Linked DNA regions of Homo sapiens: region 2 is linked to region 1. The links are contacts of gene promoters, found by promoter capture Hi-C in human tissues and cell types (Jung and others, 2019). All regions are on one chromosome and are shown on one strand. The core of a region is centred on a gene start or on the middle of the fragment in contact, and the rest is flanking DNA. Distances in the headings are between cores, read along the strand shown. Region 1 holds the start of CCDC60 (coiled-coil domain containing 60). Region 2 overlaps LINC00934 (long intergenic non-protein coding RNA 934).

The links. The method cuts DNA at HindIII sites, captures the fragments that hold promoters and counts their contacts. A contact is called where the count stands out against the background at its distance.
Region 2: a contact is called between a fragment that was not itself captured here and the fragment with the promoter of CCDC60 in region 1, in 2 of the 25 tissues and cell types used here (dorsolateral prefrontal cortex and spleen).

Annotation. Positions count from the first base shown.
Region 1 is chr12:119,331,760-119,335,978 of GRCh38, reverse strand. CCDC60 (coiled-coil domain containing 60) reads right to left here and starts at 1,250. Exons shown (of 14, transcript NM_178499.5): 1 at 713-1,250. The coding sequence starts at 802. The HindIII fragment of the contact is 4,991 bases long and covers 1-3,178 here.
Region 2 is chr12:119,287,037-119,291,218 of GRCh38, reverse strand. All of the region lies in intron 2 of LINC00934 (long intergenic non-protein coding RNA 934), which reads left to right. Among named protein-coding and RNA genes, the nearest start is that of LINC00934, 14 kb to the left of the region's middle. The HindIII fragment of the contact is 3,764 bases long and covers 942-4,182 here.

The sequences.
Region 1 (4,219 bases), core at 1-2,500:
CTGAGAATGATGATTTCCAATTTCATCCATGTCCCTACAAAGGACATGAAAACCATAAAAACCCTAGAAGAAAACCTAGGCAATACCATTCAGGACATAGGCATGGGCAAGGACTTCACGTCTAAAACACCAAAAGCAATGGCAACAAAAGACAAAATTGACAAAAGGGATCTAATTAAACTAAAGAGCTTCTGTACAGCAAAAGAAAGTACCATCAGAGTGAACAGGCAACCTACAAAATGGGAGAAAATTTTCGCAACATACTTATCTGACAAAAAGCTAATATCCAGAATCTACAATGAACTTAAACAAATTTACAAGAAAAAAACAAACAACCCCATCAAAAAGTGGGCAAAGGACATGAACAGACACTTCTCAAAAGAAGACATTTATGCAGCCAAAAAACACATGAAAAAATGCTCATCATCACTGGCCATCAGAGAAATGCAAATCAAAACCACAATGAGATACCATCTCACACCAGTTAGAATGGCAATCATTAAAAAGTCAGGAAACAACAGGTGCTGGAGAGGATGTGGAGAAATAGGAACACTTTTACACTGTTGGTGGGACTGTAAACTAGTTCAACCATTGTGGAAGTCAGTGTGGCGATTCCTCAGGGATCTAGAACTAGAAATACCATTTGACCCAGCTAATTCCTATTTCACTTGTTCTCGAAAACATGATTGGTTTCAGCAGAGGGGAGACTTACCTGCCTTAGGTTCTCCGAGGCATAAAAGGGCCGGACAGCCCCCGAGTTGGGGGAACTCTGAAGCTTCTTGGTGGCTGGAACCTTGGTCATCTTAAAAATCCTTCAGGTTTTAGCCTGTGCCCCCAAGACAAGGATTTTTCCAGAATCTTCTACTTCAGTAGTTACTGGTATGAGAAGTTTCGGCAACTTCTCCCTGATCCCCAAGTCCCAATTACACGAACTCCAAAGCGGTTTCCTTCTGAAGAGTAATGAGAAAGCACCTGGGTCTCCCACAGACGGGATAAGGAAGTCCGGGTAGGGCAGAATCAGGCAAGCCTGGACTTATTTACTTTTTGAAAGGTTATAAACTTCTGTAAGCTTCCTCCTCTTCGGAAGGGATATCTTTCTCTTCTATAAGCAAAATAAAATATGAACTAAAAAATAAATAAAATTCCAGTGACAAAGTGTGAGAGGGGTCCCATGGAGGGGCTCCCAGATCGCCATCCTCCGAGAGCGGCCGAGAACTAAGGCGGCCCCAACGAGGGGTTTATCGCACTGCGGGGAAAGTAGGCAACTGCTAACCCTTGGGCCGGGTGGGGGTGGGGGGAACCCAGTTGCTTGGCAACGGGACGCCGAGGAGGGCTTCCTCATTGGCTGGAATTCGTGGGGGCGGGGTCATGGGGGTCGTGAACTCTCCCAGGTTGCTGGGACGCCGGCTCAGAGCAGCCGGCTGCCACCGGAGCTGCATTCTCTAAACAAATTGGTTTCTGTTTTTAGGCCTGAGGACCATACCCTTTCTCTCTGCCTGACTACAAGCGAATCCTTCTTTTCAAACTCTGCTCTGTACTGCTGCTAACCCACTAGTAATTTTTTGTGCCTTGGGGTGGGTGGCCTGTAGTCCTGCAATTCTTAACCTGAGATGCCTATTTCTCCCGTTTTTCCACCTGACAAACTCCTGCTCATCCTTCAAAGCCCTTCATTTCATAAAATGAAATATTGTTATTCCATTTATTTAGCAAAGATTTATTGACTCTGCTAAAATAAAATATAATAAAGTAAAAATGAAATTAAAAAAAATGAGACCTTCAGGACTTCACGATCTATAGTGTGTATGTTTGGGATGGGGAGCAAAAGATAAGAAACATTGTTATAAGGCAGGATGATTTATGATGTGCTGGGAAAGTATCATAGGGTATTGTGGGAGCAAAGAAAAGGGACAGCTGTATATAGATATAGATATATGCACACACATACATATACACATATATGAATATACATATGTAGACATGTATATATGTGTGTATATACGTATTTGTGTGTGTGGGCATGTATGCATATGACATTTATTGAGTGCTTAGGATGTGCTAGACACTGTTCTAAGTGTCACATACTGACTCAATCCATACAGCACCTCTTTAAAGAAGGTGTTTTATTACCCCATTGTACAGCCTAAGCAACTGAAGCACAGAGACATTAAATGACAAGTTTAAAGTCACGCATGTGCTGCAGCTGAAATTCAAAGCCAGAACTGTTTGAGTCTAAAGAGCAAGCTTTTAACCACTTAGATGCCTAACTTTGCTGAGTTTGGCTTCTATGTCTTTAAAATGGGGATACTATCTTTGCCACAGGTTGTTAAGAATTGAAGTGGATGATGCATATGAAGGCTGAGCCCATGGGGAGTCCTAGCTAAGTGGTACTATTATTATTCCCTGACATCACTTCCCGAGGAAGAATCAGGCATTCTCACTGTGCTGGGTTCATTTCACAGCAGATGTTAGTACTAACTGATATTTATTGATCACTTGCTCTGTGCTAGGTACTGTACTAAGCACTTCGCATACATTAATTCATTTAATCCTTCCAATAACCCTACGGGGTAGGTTCCCAGCCTGCAGCAGATTTATTTCGTATGTTTGGATTTGAATGCCTTATCCTTGGCATTGTTTCACACTGGATCGATCTGATTCCTGTTTTATCCAACAACCTTGAGCTGCTGGGGATTATGATATCATTATGGCTGCATCTTCTCTCTTTCTTTCTTTCTTTTTCTTTTTCTTTTTTTTTGAGGCAGAGTCTTGCTGTGTTGCCCAGGCTGGAGTGCAGTGGCGTGATCTCGGCTCACTGCAACCTCCGCCTCCCGGGTTCAAGCGATTCTCCTGCATCAGCCTTCTGAGTAGCTGGGATTACAGGGGCATGCCACCAGGCAGGCCAGGCTAATTTTTGTATTTTTAGTAGAGACGGGGTTTCACCATGTTGGCCAGGCTGGTCTCAAACTCCTGAACTCAAGTTATCTGCTGGGATTACAGGTGTGAGCCATGGCGCCCAGCTCATCTTCTCTTTAGAAGGCATCTACTGCAAGATGACACTCTACAGAATGCAAAATACCTAGCCAAGTAACTCTAGATGCTGGTGCCTGAAAGTCATTATTTTCTCACCATTGCCTAAAGACTGACCCTGACCTTCCCTTTCACAGGAAGTTTTGGTTCTCCGGCTTCTTTTGTGGGCAGCATTAAGCAATCGGCAGACACTTTCAGAATGAAGCAGATAAAGGGAATCATGTTTGGGAGATAGGGCTGGGGATGAGGGGATGAGGGGATGAGAAAACAAGGCAGGATGGGAAATGTTCAGCCCTGAGCAGAACAGACAAAAGCTGTCTTCATATGATTTTGTAGAACAGGCTTGGCAAAGAGGAACTCAACTAGTTCTGTATTAGCTCAAAGAATAGGAGGAGGTTTGGGCTCAATAGGAAGAAATGTGTACACAGCAGAACATAATTTTAAAAGGTGTGACCTCTGGAATCCAACTGAATTAGCCACTGAGCAGCTTCAATGATAATTCTCATAGGACTGTGATGAAAACCAAATGGGATAACTCATGCAAAGCACAATGCCTAGCACGGAGGAAGTGCTCAATAAATATTAGCCCTTATTTCCTTTGTTGTTTTTATAATACTCACCTGTCAGAGCCATGTAAGAACTGGAAATAGGAAGGGCTCTAGAACTGAAAAGACATGCGTTCAATTCCTGGCTCTGCCATTTGTTACCAATAAGACCTGGGTCAAGTTCACTTCTCCAAGCCTCAATTTTTCACGTGTATAAAACTCATGTGTAGTGAATGGTTATGCCAATTTTATACCTGCTACCAGGATGATGAAGCAAAATAACGAATTTCCCTTCTCTGTCTAGGAAGGGGTATATTCTTTAGAGAGGGAACAAACTACCCAGCACTAGAGGTGTTCAACTAAATGCCATATGGCTTCTTGGATTTTTGATCACTTGGGGGTGTCAGACTACATGATATTTAAGGCTCTTTCCAAACCGATATTGAGAGACTATATGGAGTACTAGTTGAGCTGGTGTCTAAATCCCAACTCAGCCATTTACCAGCTGTGTGACTTTAACTAAGTAACTTATCTGCTCAAAGCTTTGGTTTTCTCATTACAGAGTGAAGATAATAGTACATTCGTGAAAATGGTATCATGTACATAAAATATTTAGTACAGTTGGCACATAATACATGCTCAATAAA
Region 2 (4,182 bases), core at 1,574-4,073, 46 kb after region 1:
GCTCAGGCAGTAATGAGAGGGATGCAGAGCAGCTGTAAATACAGATGAAGCTTTGCTCGCTCTCCCCCTGCCCACTTCCTGCTGTGTGGCCCTGTTCCTAACAGGCCATGGACCATTACCAGACTGTGGCCTAGGGCTTGGGGACCCCGCTGTAAGAAAGCCAAGAACAAAACAGTAAATGCCAACTCACCCAGTGCTCCAAAGTGAGGTCCAATACTCTCAACATAACCAGCTAACGAGGTGGCCAGAACTTGTTTCATGTCCCTTTAGCCTTTCCTCTAATTTGAGGGCATAAGAGGGTTCCTGTTGAAGTGTGGAGAGGGGAAGAAATTGGAAGGGAGATTTTTTAGATAGAATTGATGGAGTTCTGTGACATGTTCTCTCCCAAAACTGGCAGTAGAAGTGGTCAGTGCCCCATCAGAATTTATCATAGCAACCCTGAAAGGCCAAATGCCATCTCTCAGTATTGTCATCTCTGTGCTTGGGGGCTTTCTCTGAAGATGAGGAAGACCAGTCTGCCCATTCCCAAGGAGACCAGAAGTGCCAGGGAATTAACATCCTCTGGGAGAAGCCATCAGCCAATGACTGATGGGAGTTGGTATATAAAGCTCCGAGATCCCTCACTGCTGAGTTGGAAGCACATTGAGGCATGTATTCTGCATGGTTTCCCAGAGTTCCTAGGAAGTTATTTTTGATGCCCACCAAAATGGTAGTTGGCTTGATTTTACAAATCTTTTACAGGTTTTTTTCCTTTTCCCTGACTCTTTTCCCCCATGATATGGTTTGGCTGTCTGTCCCCACCCAGATCTCATCTTGAAGTGTACTCTCGTAACTCCCATGTGTTGTGGGAGGGACCCGGTGGGAGAGCATTGAATCACGGGGACAATTTCCCCCATACTGTTCTCATGTTTGGGAATAAATCTCATGAGATCTGATGGTTTTATAAGGGGTTTCCGCTTTTGGTTCTGCCTCATTTTCTCTTTTTGCCACCATGTAAGAAGTGCCTTTTGCCTTCCATGATTGTGAGGCCTCCCCAGCCACGTGGAACTATGAGTCCATTAAACCTATTTTTCTTCCTAGTCTCAGGTATGTCTTTATCAGCAGTGTGAAAACAGACTAATACATCCCACTCTCCTCCGAAATAAAGTACTCATACTCAAATCCTGATCTCAGGATCCCTGATATGGTCTGGCTGTGTCCCCACCCAAATCTCATCTTGAATTGTAGTTCCCATAATCCCCACGTGTCATGGGAGGGAACTGGTGGGAAGTAATTGCGTCATGGGGTGGTTACCCTCATACTGTTCTCATGACAGTGAGTGAGTTGTCACAAGATCTGATGGTTTTATAAGGGGCTTCCCCCTTTGCACGACACTCACCTCTCTTACCTGCCACCATGTAAGAGATGCCTGTTTCACCTTCTGCCATGATTGTAAGTTCCCTGAGGCCTTTCCAGCCATGAGGGACTGTGAGTCAATTAAATCTCTTTCCTTTATAAATTACCCAGTCTTGGGTATTTCTTCATAGCAGTGTGAGAATGGATGAATACAATCCCTTTCTGGTGGAACTCAAACCAAGACAAAGCCCTGTTATTCAGATAATACCTTTATTCCTAGCGCATTTCTAATCCTTTCCTAACTTTGCAAGATGGGTTTCTTTTTTTCTCCAATGAGGAAGCAGAAGATCCATATGACTCTGAAAATATGCTCTTTTCCTCACACCATTCTGCTCCCTAGCAGTTGTAAGCCATTCCCTCCAGCCAGCAGAATACAATTCTTTAATTGGCCACCCATAGCCTCTGTTTAATCTAGCACTTTCTTGATGTTCAGAAGCTTGGTTCTGAATCATTTACTCAATGCTATTCCTCACTGTCTGCTGCATCCTGCCTTTAATACCCCCAACATCTAGTTTCTGTTAGCCCTCTGGATGCAACGCTGGATGCTGTCTCCCTGGCCCTTGACTTTGACTCACCATCCAGCTCCATTGCCCTAGACTTGTCTTGAGAAATACTCTTCCTAGTTGGACTGAGTTCCAGGACTCCTGGTCTTGATACTATCCACTATGGATGATGTTCTGGTTGGTTCATATCATGGCTGTCCCTCTATGTGCTAACAATTCCTATTCTCAGCTGGAGCAAAATGAACTTTTATCCATTACTTAAAATTTGAAAGCACGTCCAGGAAGTTGGGCATACTAGCTGAGCAAGCCGAGTGCCTATCAGAAGAACTTGGACACCACTGCTGGGAATTGGCTAAGTGGGAAGATTTTAATTGTTCCCAGGCTTGTCGCATCCACGTAATTTTCTCTAACGAGCACACACAAAGCAACAAGGAGAGGTGCGGGATTGGATGGCAATTCAATGCCTCATAATGCCAGATGAATTGCAGCGCCTGCTCCACAGTATTGCATTTGCCGATGTCTGGGAGACAGTCTCCATGGATGCTAATTCAATTATGCTGAAACATAGAAGGAAATTGTCAGCCAAATTGCTGCCACGCTGCCGAGCTGTACCTCGCTCTTGCCCCCCGTGCTGTTTCCTGCTGATTCAGCAGCACATGGCAGCTCGTCTAGTCTGGGAATGACCAGGGGCTGTGTTCCACTTGGTATGGTTCTTCAGGCAGACTTCCCATCTTAGACCTCCAAATAGAGAAATGATTCCTTATTAAACTTTTCCTTCCCTTCTTTCACTCTGGCAACACCTCTTGTTACTTATTCATCATCAACAATAAAAATATATGATAAGCTTAAGAGAACTATATTGTTCAACTAGTAAATCTTGATCAAGCATCAGTTAAAGACTGAGAACACAGCAGGGAACAAAAATGGGCATAAATCCATTACTTTAGGAGTTTATGGTCCTGTCTCACTTTCCAAGGATGGAAGATTATTGGGTCAGTTTGAAGGCTTTCTTTGCTTTCTAGAATCTGGATAATGGATAAATGTGAAAACTCAAAAGAGATAGAAAGGCTCAGTAGATTCATAGGAGAAATTGCTGCATGGGAAGAGAAGACTAGGGAACACAAGCCAGGGGGCATGGCTAGGTTTGAAGATTTTAGGGAGTTCATAAAAGAGAAGAGAAGAATGTAGTGGAGCGTTTTGTGGGGAACACAATGAGAAGAAGGAAGTGCATTTTAAGCTTTGCTCTGTTGTGTGAATGGAATGCCTCTGTGCTCTGTGATATTTTTTAAGAGACTTCAGTAATTGCAGTTTTGTGGTATTTTTTTTCTTTTTTTTCTTTTTTTTATTTTTTTAGATGGAGTCTCACTCTGTTGTCCAGGCTGGAGTGCAGTGGCGTGATGTCTGCTCACTGCATCCTCCACCTCCCGAGTTCAAGCGATTCTCCTACCTCAGCCTCCTGAGTAGCTGGGATTACAGGCGCGCACCACCATGGCCAGCTAATTTTTATATTTTTAGTAGAGATGGGGTTTCACCATGTTGGTCAGGCTGGTCTTGAACTCCTGGTCTCGTGATCCACCCACCTCAGCCTCCCAAAGTGCTGGGATTACAGGCATGAGCCACCGTGCCCTGCTGTAATTGCAGTTTTAAACTTGCTTAAAAAAAAAAATCAGTCAAAAAATATTTATTGAATGCCTACTATGTTCCAGGTACAAGATAGATGCAATTTTTTCCTTATCTGGCATGTCGTTCCAAGTGAAAGAGGACTGAATACATGATAGGTACACATATGAGAAGGATGGAACTTCATCCAGGAAGGCAGAGAAGCCTTCGCTGAGCAAATGAGATTTCTGTTGAACTCTGAAGGATTAGGAGTTTGTCAGGCAAAGAGACGCGGGTGGGGAGTATGGACAGTTTCAGACGCAGATAATGGCTTTTGAGAGGGATTCATGGAATGAAAGAATCCAGTTTATTGGCCAAAGCTGTCCTATCAAAAGTAACAATGCTGCGAACTTCTCCACCAGACTCTTCTCAATATCTAGTTTCTAGTTTCAGTGAAATTGAATATTCTCAGGTGAGTTCCTGTAATGTGGGCCTGAATCTGTCTTGCTCCCAACCTCTGCAGCTGATTCTACCCCTGCCACTATTGCCAAGAAAACAAGTTGAGATAAAGCTGATGGTAGATGGGGCAGCGGGCGGAAATTGTTTTTCAGACTGACTGGCTGGCTGCCATAATGGACGTTTCTTTAAATAAGGTTCTGTGCTATGGTGGCTTCAAGGCTTTATA